Regions from separate parts of the Homo sapiens genome. Here region 2 is linked to region 1. Evidence: promoter capture Hi-C in human tissues and cell types (Jung and others, 2019). All regions are on one chromosome and are shown on one strand. The core of a region is centred on a gene start or on the middle of the fragment in contact, and the rest is flanking DNA. Distances in the headings are between cores, read along the strand shown. Region 1 holds the start of PLA2G12A (phospholipase A2 group XIIA). Region 2 overlaps ENPEP (glutamyl aminopeptidase).

Evidence for each region. The method cuts DNA at HindIII sites, captures the fragments that hold promoters and counts their contacts. A contact is called where the count stands out against the background at its distance.
Region 2: a contact is called between a fragment that was not itself captured here and the fragment with the promoter of PLA2G12A in region 1, in 1 of the 25 tissues and cell types used here (lymphoblastoid cells).

Annotation. Positions count from the first base shown.
Region 1 is chr4:109,726,011-109,732,910 of GRCh38, forward strand. It overlaps PLA2G12A (phospholipase A2 group XIIA), which reads right to left and starts at 4,060. Exons shown (of 4, transcript NM_030821.5): 1 at 3,592-4,060. The coding sequence starts at 3,799. It also overlaps a transcript of CFI not described here. RefSeq lists enhancers at 3,449-3,518, 4,178-5,054 and a silencer at 3,849-4,188. The HindIII fragment of the contact is 10,778 bases long and covers 1-6,118 here.
Region 2 is chr4:110,498,938-110,505,655 of GRCh38, forward strand. The region is part of intron 3 of ENPEP (glutamyl aminopeptidase); the gene reads left to right. Among named protein-coding and RNA genes, the nearest start is that of ENPEP, 26 kb to the left of the region's middle. The HindIII fragment of the contact is 7,394 bases long and covers 1-5,498 here.

The DNA of each region.
Region 1 (6,900 bases), core at 2,810-5,309:
CTGATGACCTGGATTCCTACTTTACTGAAAAAAGCAGGCAATCAGGAGAACTTGAACATCCACCCACTTAACCAGCACCAGTGCTCATATCCTCTACCTGTGTTCCTATTAACAGGGCTATGCTATATGCTCTTGGCCAAACTCTCTAAGTATGTACTAGAAACTACCCCCTCTCACTTACCCAAGGCTATGACTCCAATAATTCTCTCCCTCGTCAGTATTTCTACTCTCCACTGAACCATTCTCAAAAGCATACAAATGTGTTATTATTTTTCCTAATGCCCGAAAACTGTTCTTTCCACGGTCTTCCCCATATCAGTTAATGGTAATTCTGTCCTTCCAGTTGTTCAGGCCAAAAACTGTGGTATCATTTTTGACTTAACTCATACCTAACTTCTAAGCCATCAGCAAATCTTTTAGGTCCTTCCTTCAAAATATATCCAAAATCCAACTACTTCTCATTACCTCTGTTGCTACCAACCTGAGCAAAATCACCCGTCTTTTGTCTGGACTCCTGCATGCGTCACCCTGCTTCCATTTTTACTCCCCCACTCCCTTGACCCCTTCTGTTCTCAGCACAACAGCCAGAGGGATCCTAGAAAACATACGTCACTGAATTAATTAATGACTTATTCATCATTCTAAAAACATTTACAAGCCAGTTTTGTGTTCTATTTTTCAAAGGAAATCGAAAAGTTTTCTTCCTTAAATCTTCCTTGCTGTCAGGGAGAAAAAAGTTGAAGAAAATAACGGATCATCAAATTTATTTCCCTAAATACTTAACTCTCAATAAGGCCTTTTTCCTACCCAAGAGAGGATGGCCAAAACTAAGGGAGCAAGTCTCCATAATGCCAGTCCCTCAGGTAAAGCAAGGACATGTGCCCTTTATTTGACCAACCTCTCCCTACCATTAACTCACTCTTTTTTTTTTTTTTTAAAGCTCTCTTGATCTCTTTCGTGCAACTAAAAATACCCCTTAATCACCATGTTTCTCCAGATTTGGGATTGTTCTGTTTGGTTCTGATTTGGTCACCTGAATTCCAAAATATAGGAAAGGTTGAATTGTTCCAGAGAGACTGCTCGAGTAACAGCAATTTTATTATTATTATTATTATTATTATTTTTGAGACAGAGTCTTGCTCTGTCACCCAGGCTGGAGGCACGGTCTCGGCTCACTGCAACCTCCACCTCCCAGGTTCAAGCTATTCTCCTACCTCAGCCTCCCAAGTAGCTGGGACTACAGGTGTGCACCACCATGCCCAGCTAATTTTTGTATTTTTAGTAGAGACGGGGTTTCACCATGTTGGCCAGGCTGGTCTCGAACTCCTGAGCTCAACTGATCCGCCCGCCTCAGCCTCCCAAAGTGCTGGGATTACAGGCATGAGCCATTACGTCCTGCCTAATTTTTTTTTTCATTGAGATCCAATTATCTATCAGTATGGTGACTTGGACTTGAAACCACATGTCCGTTAAACGTAGAGTACTTACTAAGACAAAAAATTTTTTTTCACTGAGGCATATAACATTTCTTAAATTCTCAAATTCCTTTGTGTTTTTTTGTGCCAGAGACCTTCCTCTAAACTCCAAATAGTAAATTTTGAGAAGCCTGTAGAAGATGAAAAAGATTAAAAAGAAAGATTAAGCCAGGTGTAGTGGGGGCATGGCCTATAGTCCTAGCTATTTGGGAAGCTGAGGCAGGAGAATTGCTTGAGCCCAGGAGTTGGAGGCTGCAGGGAGCAATGATCACACCACTGCCCTCTAGCCTGGGCACAGAGGGAGACCTTGCCTCAAAAATATTAACAAAAAATAAAATAAAAAGACTAAAACAGTATTTTAACAAGGCTGGTATTCATTCAACTTCAGGCATGTTTTAAATGTAAATAAACTCTAGAACCCTAGACTAATAAATTTATGAAGACGACTCCTTCCAAGTCTTCCCTATCTCTGTAAATGGCAACCGTTTCCTTCCTTTGGCTCAGGCCAAAACCTTCAGAGTCATCCTTGACTGGCCTTTCTCCTCAGGTCCATTGCACTTGCTATTCCCTCTGTCTGGAATGCTGTTTCTCCAAATAACCACATTCCCTCCCCTTACCACGTGCAGATTTCTTCTCAAATATTCTTTCATCAGTGAGGCCTTTGCTGAACAACCCATTTAGAAGAGTAAATTGCCTCCAACATGGCCCCTCGTCTGCCCTGATCAGACTCCACACTTCCCCTAATTTTACTTATTTACTAGTTTACTGCCCATCTCTCCCTCACCAGAACTCAAGCTCCACGGACAGAGATTTTTGTCTGTTTTATTAACTGCTGAATCTCAAATTAGAACAACATCTGAAGCACAGTTGGGACTCAAATATTTGTATAATGAATAGGAATGACTAAGTAAAACTGTAACATTTGCTTTAGGAAAGGCAACTATTTGATCCTTAAATTATGCACTTAATCCTCCGAACAAGTTCTACAAGAATAAAAACATCTTCATGAAGCATACGTTTAGGTGGTAACGTTTAGGCACAAATTTAAGAAGCAATGCAACATGTCTCAGCACCTGTTCAGCGCTTTAAAGTATACAAGATACAGTTCATCCTTTACTTCTATTAACATAAAACTAGAAATTATCTTGAAAATTGCAGGCAGCATGTGGCATCATAGGTTTACATGATACCAGTTCCTTTTAAGTTCACCTATACAATCAGGTTCCAACAATGAAGTCACTGGATCCCCGATTATTTTCCGCTGCCAGCATAATGAGACTCTAACCTTGGCTAATCTTATTGGAAACATGATCTCCCAACTGCTCTCTTAACATTTTCAATTTCCAAACAAAAGTCCAATATTTTTCTGACCTATTAAAATATTTAAGCACTCAAAAATGTGCTACAAAAGAACTATCTCTGCCTGAAATACTGAGTTGATTAGTACTCATACCGCCACCAAACAAATTCTCAGGTTCAAAGAGAAAGTTCAAAAAATATTAAAAGAGTAAATGAAGATAACTGTATTAACGTTAACCAACAATGAGGAGGAGGCGGGTCACTGATATCTAAGGAAAGAAGAGTTATCGGAACCCTTTCTCAACACTCGAGTACACCAAAAGTCTGTACAAAGGTCGCAAGTTATTGTCTATGGGTTTGCAGAAAAAAAACCATTTAATATCAATTATAGAGAAAGTTAATACGGCATGGTTTTTAAATTCTCAGTTTGCTTCGCATGTTCATCCAATTTACAGAAGCAAAAATGAGCTAAAACCAGTCTGTTCCACTCTATTCCCATGATTCCTACGTCAGTAAGTTCTTCGGCAACTTGGTGCAATTGAGGGGGGGAAAAGGTAATTCAGAAGCAATGCAAATGGGACGGGGGGTACACCTCTCCGTTAGAATGTGACCTCTCACATTCTAACAATAGTGGTGCGAACTTGTACCCAGCTTGCTCAATCACTAGAACGGCAAGATTCTAGCAGTGGTTAAGTTTTTCCACAGCCGAAGGACACCGTCAAGGTCTGCCTTGCATCTGTCACTCACACCTCCAGGATCTCCGTCACCCCAATCCCCCGAAAGCACGAGCCCTCGCTGGGCCCGGGTGCCCCCTCACCGTCACTGCATTTATACTGGCAGAGACCGTCCTCGCCTCCCAGGAGGTCCAAGGCGGCGTTCAGGTACGTGTCTATCTTATGAACGCCGTTCCGGATGGTCTTCAGGGTGGCTCTCCAGTCGGTGGTCTGGGCCTGCTCCTGGCACCTGACAACAGCGGCCATGAGGAGGAGCAGGAGGGTGAGCGCGGGGCGCGAGAGCAGGGCCATGCGCGCAGCGCCGGGCTCTACGGGTCCCCGAGCCGCGGCGCGGGGCGCGTCCCCACAGAGTCCCCAGGACGCGCTAGGCAGCGGCGCGGGCCCCGGACTTGGCAGCAGCCAGCTCCATATCCACGCCTCCTTCCCGGCTGGCCCTCAGGATCTCGCTGTCTTTACGTGAACCGCCTCGGGCAGGCAGCGCCGTCGCGGGGACGCGCCCGCTCACCTGGACCAGCGCGCCCGCTCACCTGGGCCAGCAACCGTCCCCTGTGCGCCTGCGCCGGAGCACGGCGCGTCAGCGGCGCACGGGAGGGGCGGGACGCGCAGGGGTGGGGCGGGGCGGGGGCGGGGTTGGGGGGGGCGGGGAACCGGGGGAGGGGCGCGCGGGGCGGGAAACGGGGGCGGGGCCTCCATGCCCACGTGGTCTCCGCGGCACCCTCCCAAGACCCTTGGTCCTGGTTCACAAGAGAACCTTAAAAAGTACCCAGGCCTGAGCCCCTTTTCTAGGGAGCCTGATTACGTTGTCCCAGGTGGCAGTGGGCGTCGGTATTTTTTAAGAAAGCTCTCCGGGCTGTTAACCGTGAAGCAAGAGTTGCAGAGCTAACCCCGGTGGCCTAACCTGACCAGTCGGGGCTCAGCACAGTAGCCCCGAGAGACAAGCTTTTCTGGGTGTGGACAACATCGGAGAAAATAACCCCTGTGCCCCCTCGCAGAGAGCGCTGCGAGAGGTCCAGCTGAGTTTCCGGCTTGAAGACGTGGTTCCATTGGCAATGTGGGCAGAGTCCGGCTGTCAGCTCGCAGAGCAGGGCTTTTCCTCCTTGCGTCCTCTCCCGGTCCTCCAGATCTGCTGTGGCCGCGGTTGGGGGAGCGGGATCTGGAAGATGCCAACCCATGCCTTGGCGGTGCCTGACTCTAATCAGGACGAGCTAAATGCTAGTTTAGACTTTCCGGAAAAAGAAAATGGGCCAACATAAAAATCATAAAATTCTCCCCTGGTAAGGAAGAAACAGTAGTGTAAACTTAAATACAGTAAAAAGTAAAATAAATCTTAAGGAAGTCATTGTTTTTCTACTCAAGGGATTTTGTAACTTGATAGTTACAGTGACGTTTGTTTCTCTGTACCTACCACCCTGCCCCCAGCATTGTGCGGGATCCATAAATAACTATTGCAGTAGTACTTTGTATCAGTTGTAAATATCTGGTTATCTTAGTATCACAGCAGTTTCCAAGAATTTTACAGTAAGATCCAGAGCAATGTTGAAAGTATTGGGCAGACCAAGCGCGGTGGTTTACGCCTGTAATCCCAGCACCTTGGGAGGCCTGGAACTCCTGAGGTCAGAAGTTCGAGACCAGCCTGGCTGACATGGTGAAACCCCATCTCTACCAAAAATACAGAAAATTAGCTGGGCGTGGTGGCGGGCACCTGTAATCCCAGCTACTCGGGAGGCGGAGGCAGGAGAATCACTTGAACCCAGGAGGTGGATGGATGTTGCAGTGAGCTGAGATTGCACCACTGCACTCCAGCTTGGGGCACAGAGCGAGACTCTAAAAAAAAAAGAAAGTGAGTAAGTATTGGGCATAGGTGTGTCCTTTCTATAAGAATTACCAATAAGTTCTAGGTTTGGCCTTTTGTGTTTGTTACAAACTAAATGAGCTTATAATAAACGTTCAGTGCACAGTTCATAAAAATTACATCCCTCTTTATTGAGTGCTTACTATGTGCCAGGCACTTCATGAATATGATCGCTCACATTCAGAACACTACTTTACAAGGATGCAGACTTTGGGCAAGTTAGAAACATAGAAAGGCATTCCTCCCTACAAACAGGGTAGCCCAACAAACGGTGTAGCTCCTGGCTGGAGACTGCCTGCACTTCACTCAGCCCCTCAACCAGGAGTCTTGGGCAGTGATTAATTCCTACCACAATGGAGAAGGGGGAAGAATGTTCCCTGGAAGGTATTATTATCTTCCTCTTTTACAATAAAAGAGTCGAGGTGAGAAGTCATGTGACAGTATCTACTCCAAACCAAGGCCTCTGTCTTCACAAAATACCACAGATATTTTTATTTTTTAATTTTTAGACAACACATTTCAATACATTTTAAAAAGGGAACTTAGAATCATTGTCTTAGCTTTCTGGAACATTGGTTTCTCAGCTCCAAAGTATGAAAGTTGGACTAGATTACCTCTGAGATACCACCACCTGAATCCTTAAACCAGGCTTGGTTCTTACAACTCCCTAGTCCAGGGACAAGACTTTCAAAAGAAAGGATAGAATGTAATAAAATAACCTAGTTCCAGCCCTCAGTTATGACCCAAAGCCTCTCCTTTCCCCCACTTTCTCTATTTATTTACTTCTTTGTGATCTCATCTAATTTCTTACACCTTAACTACAGCCTATACTCTGAGGAATCAGACGTAGTTTTCTTTGTCTGATCTCTCCTTAGGGATTAAATTCTCAAATGCCAGTTCTTCTGGCTTGATGCAGCTGTTCTCTTTCTCTCAAGCAAATCTTTCCACTGTCTTCCCCATGAGAATCACCACCATTTTTGTAGAAAACAAGACTCTAAGTTTTATTTTCACATTCTTTTCACATTTAATCATTATATATTTGTTGTTCTGCTGCAGTAATTACAAGGTTTACGTTTTCCTCTTAATTGATGCTGTTAAATACCAGGGATCTGCACTGACCACAGACTATCTGTATAATTTGTAGGGCTCAGTGCAAAATAAAAATACAGAGCCCCTTGCTCAAAAATTAAGAATTTCAAGGTGATGGCCGGGTGCGGTGGCTCACGCCTGTAATCCCAGCACTTTGGGAGGCTGAGATGGGCAGATCACGAGGTCAGGAGATCGAGACCATCCTGGCTAACACGGTGAAACCCTGTCTCTACTAAAAATACAAAAAGTTAGCTGGGCATGGTGGCGGGCACCTGTAGTCCCAGCTACTCGGGAGGCTGAGGCAGGTGAATGGCGTGAACCCGGGAGGCAGAGCTTGCAATGAGCCAAGATCGTGCCACTGCACTCCAGCCGAGGCCACAGAGCAAGACTCTGTCTCAAAAAAAAAAAAAAAAGAATTTCAAGGTGATAACAGCAGAGCATTAAAATAAGT
Region 2 (6,718 bases), core at 552-3,051, 770 kb after region 1:
AACCCTGTGGTTTGCTTTTTTCCTGGCCTTCTGTTTTTATTGCTAAAAGTCTTTTGAAACCAGGCCCTTACAATCCAAAAAGTTTGGGCTTTTAAATGTGTTGTGTGGGCATCAAGAGCCTATTTTGAAAGTCAAAACCATAACATTTATTTTTTTCCCCTGCATTTTTCAATGTTCTTACTGGCAATGTGGACACCATAGTGTAAGTATCAATCACATATAAGGAAGTACGCACACAGAAAATTACAGAGGTTAATAATTCAGTGTATTATCTCTAATGATACTAACACTTTTGATGGGACACATAGAACTATTACATGTCAAACATTGCTTATGTGTTATTTAATACTCGAAATAACCCTATGACATAAGTGCTGTTGTTATATCTATTTTACAGCTGGGGAGGTCAAGATTCAGTCTTATAAGTAGAGAAAATAGGCAGCATGATATGTGAAAACAAACTTTGTCCTGAACTCTAGCGTCGGTCCTGTCTTAGACTTCATTTTTCTCATGTATACAATGAGGAAGTTTATTTTCAAATCACCTTCAAACTCTAAAATTATAAATAGAGGTCTACAATCCTTGTCCCAAACCCTCATGGCCAGTTGTATGTTGGAATTCAGAAATTTTCAGATTTGTGAAAGGTAATGTAGTTTGAATACTATATGTTAATGATTAACTACAGTGGGATTTGGGGCAATGTCTTATAATCAGTGATACTTCTGCAGCAATTTTTTATAGTGAGAAAAATAAAGATTTTTGAAAAACTCTTAACAGTTCAGGTCATATGATATTGCCAAATTAGTTTGCTTAAACATATAAAAAGTTTTAGAACTCATTGGATTTATTAGTGTGGATTAGGGGTTGTGGGAACTGGACCAGTGAACGGATTGGGGTAATTATCAGTGATGCAAAATATTTTTTCTATTATTATTAATAATTCTGGATTCATAGAATTGACGTGTGGAGTAAAAGAAATGTTGCATGGAAAATGCTTATCACATTCCTTGAAAAAATTTAAGTTCTCAATAATAAGACTAATAAGTAATCATAATACTATCGCTGAGCTTTGTGCTTGGTTTTGGTTGCAGGGACATAAATAATCATTGAAGATAAAGATGGTGCACAGCCTCATTAAATTGTTCAAGGAAGATTGATCTAATGCATCTAGTCATGATTGTCAAGTGAAGTCAAGTGTGGCAAAGGGACACGTAAAGGAAGTAATGGTAATCAACCAGGAATCGATTCTCATGGACTTAAGTTCTATCTCTCAAATGGTTTGAGACACTTGAATGAAAGGGATAACATTAAGAACTCTAAGAGCCTACATTACAGCAGGCTCCAATATGATAAGGGAAAAGCAAAAGCTATGTTAAAGCAGATATGTCTTACCTCCCAAAAGAATATCAGCTGAATAAGGCTGTATAAAGCCCAAAGTTTTTCCACTGATACTAGCTCCATAGATTCAGTGCTTTGAAAGACGACTAATGGTATCCAACAGTAGTATACCAGGTAATTTAATTTGCCTAGGGAAGTTACTGTCTTCAAAAAGTAAATATATGCATGAAAGTTAGGTTCTTGAAGACTTATAAACTTCATATTTATGTTTATATATAATGTTTACATATAAAGTGATAAAGTAGACATACGAACTTTATATTTAAACGTTAATAGGGTTCTTACATTTAAAAAGTCATATATGACTCTTTTAAAAGATAAAGAAGAAAGAAAATACATGTATGCATCCCTCCTCACTCCATGTTATTTCAGTATGGGTTGTCACACGCTTAAAAAATCATCTCAGTAAAGCAAGCACATAAACTAGAAAAATGTCAATTATTAAATAATGATGACGAGTCAGGGGTAATTGCCTGAACTTTATCATGTACAGAAGTGCTGAGGCTTAGCAGATGATAGGGGAGAGTCAGTCACCTCTGCCAAAGCCCAGAGAGAGGAGAAGGAGATGCAGATGGAGCATACATTAAAGGTGGGGTCAGAGAGCGGGAAAAGTGTGGTGAGGATGAGTGAAGGCATCAGCACAAGGGAGGATGCTTTCAAAATCACCAAATCCAAGCATCACAGATGTTCTGTTGTTACACGGATTACAGAAACCATGTTGGAGCTTTAAACGACAGAAAATGTTGGCATGTTGGTAGAGTCTTTAATATAAAAATGTTTGTGATATATGGTAGTTAAGACACAGTTATGCTTTGGCTTAATATGTTACAAAATTAATGGGCTGTAGCTATATATTCTCTGATTGTTTGGCTCTGTTGATCAAAGTAGCAGTTATAGAATAAAATCTATGACCTGATTTTTTTATGGTAACTTCTGTAAAATATTTCTTTTTTAAGCTTTTATTTTAGGTTCAGGGGTATATGTACGGGTTTGCTATATAGTAAATTGCATGTCATAGGGGTTTGGTGTACAGATTGTTTCACTTCTCAGGTAATAAGCATAGTGCCCGATAGGTGGTTTTCTCATTCTCACCCTCCTCCCTCTCTACTTTCAAGTAGGCCTTGATGTCTATTGCTTCCTTCTTGGGGTCCATGAGTACTCAATGTTTAGGTCCCACTTATAAGTGAGAAGATGTGGTATTTGGTTCTCTGCTGCTATGCTAGTTCTCTTAGGATAAAAGACTCCAGCTTTATCCATGATGCTGCAAAGGACATGATCTCATTCTTTTTTATGGCTGTGAAGTAGTCCATGCTGTATATATACCACATTTTATTTATCCAGTCTACTGTTGATGAAAATAAGTTGATTCCATCCACGTCTTTGCTACTGTGAATAGTGCTGTGATGAACGTATGGAGGCCTGTGTCTTTACGGCAGAACAGTTTATATTTCCTTGGGTATATATATCCTGTAATAAGATGGCTGGATCATTTGGTAATTCTGCTTTAGTTCTTTGAGAAATTGCCAAACTGCTTTCCACAATGGATAAACTAATTTGCATTCCCACCAACAGTGTATAAGTGTTCCTTTTTCTCTACAAGTTTGCCAGCATGTTATTTTTTGACCTTTTAATAATAGCCATTCTGACTGGGTGAGATAGTATCTCATTGTGGTTTTGATTTGCAGTTCTCTAATGATTAGTCATGTTGAGCATTTTTTCATATGCTTGTGGGCCATATGTGAAAAGTGTCTTTTGAAAAGTGTCTGTTCACATCCTTTGCCCATTGTTTAATAGGGTTGTTTGTTTTTGCTTGCTGATTTAAGTTCTTTACAGATTCTGGATATTTTACCTTAGTTGGATGCATAGTTTGCAAATATTTTCTCTCATTCTGTATGTTGTCTGTTTACTCTATTGATAGTTCCTTTTGCTGTGCAGAAGCTCTTTAGTTTAAGTCCATTTGCCTACTTATGGTTTTGTTGCAGTTTCTTTTGGCATCTTTGTCATGAAATCTTTGCCAGGTCCTATGTCTGGAATGGTATTTCCTAGGTTATCTTCCAGGGTTTTTATAGTTTTAGGTTTTACACTTTTTAACCTGTCTTGAGTTGACTTTTGTATATGGTGTAAGGAAGGGGTCCAGTTTCAATCTTCTGCATACGGCTAGTCAGTTATCCCAGCATCATTTATTGAATAGAGAGTCTTATCCCTATTGCTTCTTTCTGTCAACTTTGTTGAAGATCAGATGGTTGCAGGTGTATGGCATTATTTCTGGGCTCTCTATTCTGTGTCATTGGTCTGTGTGTCTATTTTTGTCTTAGTACCATGCTGTTTTGGTTACTATAGGCTTGTAGTATAGTTTAAAGTCAGGTAATGTGATTCCTCCAGCTTTTTCTTTTTGCTTAAAATTACCTTGGCAATTATATTTTTGGTGCCATATAAATTTTAAAATAGTTTTTTTCTAATTCTGTCAAAACTATCACTGGTTGTTTGATAGGAACACCACTGAATCTGTGAATTGCTTTGGGCAGTATGGCCATTTTAACAATATTGATTCTTCTTATTCGATGTTTTCTTTTTTTTTAATTATTATACTTTAAGTTCTAGGGTGCATGTACACAACGTGCAGGTTTGTTACATATGTATACATGTGCCATGTTGGTGTGCTGCACCCATTAACTCGTCATTTACATTAGGTATATCTCCTAATGCTATCCCTCCCCGCTCCCCCCACCCCACGACAGGCCCTGGTGTGTGATGTTCTCCTTCCTGTGTCCAAGTGTTCTCATTGTTCAATTCCCACCTATGAGTGAGAATATGCAGTGTTTGGTTTTTTGTCCTTGTGACAGTTTGCTGAGAATGATGGTTTCCAGCTTCATCCATGTCCCTACAAAGGACATGAACTGGATGTTTTCTTTATTTTTGTCGGACTGAGTTAGTTTGGGGAGCCAGTTTTTGAGCTCTGAGATTCTTTCTTCAGCTTGGCCTATTCTGCTGTTAATAATTGTGATTTCATTATGAAATTCCTGTAGTGTGTTTTTTTTAGCTCTGTCAGGTCATTTTGGTTCTTTCTTATAACGGTTATTTTGTCTTTCAGTTCCTGTACTGTTATATTGTAATCCTTAGTTTCCTTGGATTGGTTTCAACTTTCTCAATGGTTCTCAATGGAATCTCAATGATCTTCCTTCCTATCCATATTCTGAATTCTATTGCTATCATTTCAGTCGTTTCAGTCTGGTTAAGAACCCTTGCTGTGGAACTAGTGTGGTTCTTTGGAGGAACCAAGGCAGTCTGGCTTTTTGAGCTGCCAGAGATCCTGCACTAGTTCTTTCTCATCTGTGTGGGCTGACTTTCCCTCAACTGTGGTGGCTGATGTTCCCTCAACTGTGCTGTAATTTGAGTACAGTCAGTTGATTTCTTTCCTGGATGTTTTCAGAGGACGAAGTGTTTGTGCTGGGTCATTATTTGCGCTGAATTCATGTCCTTTGTTTCTCAGGGGCGTTATGTTAGCAAAGTATTTTTGGTGCTGAAGTTTGGGCTATGATCCAGTAGATGGTGCTTAAGCATAATGGCCAGTAGTTAGGCTCTTGCTCAGCCACAAGGCTCCTCTGTGTTTCCTCCTAATTGCAGCTGTGCTCTCTCTCAGTGCTCTGAAACTGCCTGCTCCTCTCCAACTCAAGTACTGGCTGCAGATCTCAGCTTGGCACTCCTGGGCTGCTCACCACAGCCTTGGAGCAAGCTCAGGCTTTATGCTCCTTCTGCAGCCTGGAGGCAGCAGGGGAAGGGACCTTGGCAGTTGCTGTAGCAGAGGGCTTTTCACCGGTCTTTTGGAACTCCACCCCAGAGAAATGCAGAGCCACTACCAATTGGTGCAATCAGCCCGGGGTCAGGTGGTTGTATTGTGGGCCCAAGCCAAGGGCCTGCCTGGTGATGAGCAGGGGTAACAGGGGGTTGTGGCTGGGACAAACTGGCTTCTTTTCCTTAGGGTGGCTGCAGCTTACTGGAGATATGATTAAAGCACTCAGGGTCTTTGATCCATACCTAGTCCAAGGGCAGCAAGGGCAGTACCATTGCAGCAGCCATGGCAGAGGGGCTTTCAGTTGCCTCTGGGAGATCCACCTTAGAGAAATGCAGAGCTGCTGCTACTGGGAATGTTCAGCCAGGGGATGGGGCCACTGCACTGCTGGCCTGAGCTGAGGTCCCTGCTTGGTGAAGAGCTGACCCTGATTATGAAGGGTCATAGATCACAGATGATCTGCAGACTGACCAGGCTGCAAAGACAGAGCATATTTCTATGGACTTGAGTTTCTCAGAAACAAAAGAGGAAGGGACTGCTTTTATTTTGATTGAATTTACATTAACATCAATCTTCTTTAAACACTGCCTTCCACTGTCACCAACAGAAATACAAAAAAAGAAAAATGAATTACATTGTCTCAGAAGCATACTGCTTAAAGGGAGTTCATTTACTGACATGGGAAATGAGAAAATATTAGTGGAAAGAACACATTGAGTCTGTCTCCTTCCCATTGCTCCACCTACGGTGGGAGACCTCACCATGATCTTTCAACTTCTTTTACAATTCTCTTTCGCTCACCAAATGTTGTGTGCAGCACCAAAGCACTGAATATGTAGACAACAGTGGAGCGGGTCAAGAGGACTGCCCTTCCTGAAGTTTTTAATGCAGAGAACAGATGTGATAGAAAATCTGAGAGTTTTGACACACCAATTAGTTCACAGAAGAAAAATTCTGAGACTCTTGGTTTATGACATGGCAATCCTGTACGAACGTGATGACTTTTATTTTAGACGGTTAATTCCCTTTACTCTGTTCAATGGCCAAAAACTGGAGCCTTAGTTTCACTCAACTTCTTGGAAAAATACCTGTCATTGTTCACAAAGAGGACAGGAGGGTAATCCAAACAGTTTCACTTTTTGATTGCTTAACAACTATTAGAGAAAATGTATCATCACTTCTGTAAGAAAAAAAAAAAACTTCTAAGAGTATTGAGATGATTGAGTGAGTTGTGCCGTCTTCGGAGGTGAAGACGAACACATCTTTATTTATGCAAATAAAGCAAGAATGCCAGTTACCTAGTGGATGTGAGAATAGTGAGCCAGCACTGGTAATTTAAGGGATGCTCTTTCAGAATGTGTTCTTTATATTCGTGAATCATTCCAGTGTTCTTTGCTTCTAGGAAAAGGTGGTTCAAGATGTGTGCCTAAGTGAATACCAAAACTAGCAACGCATTGGGAATAATAAAGAGAGTGGGCAATATTTTCTTTTTTTCTTGTTTAAATCCTGAGTCAGCTGTTCTAATTAGGT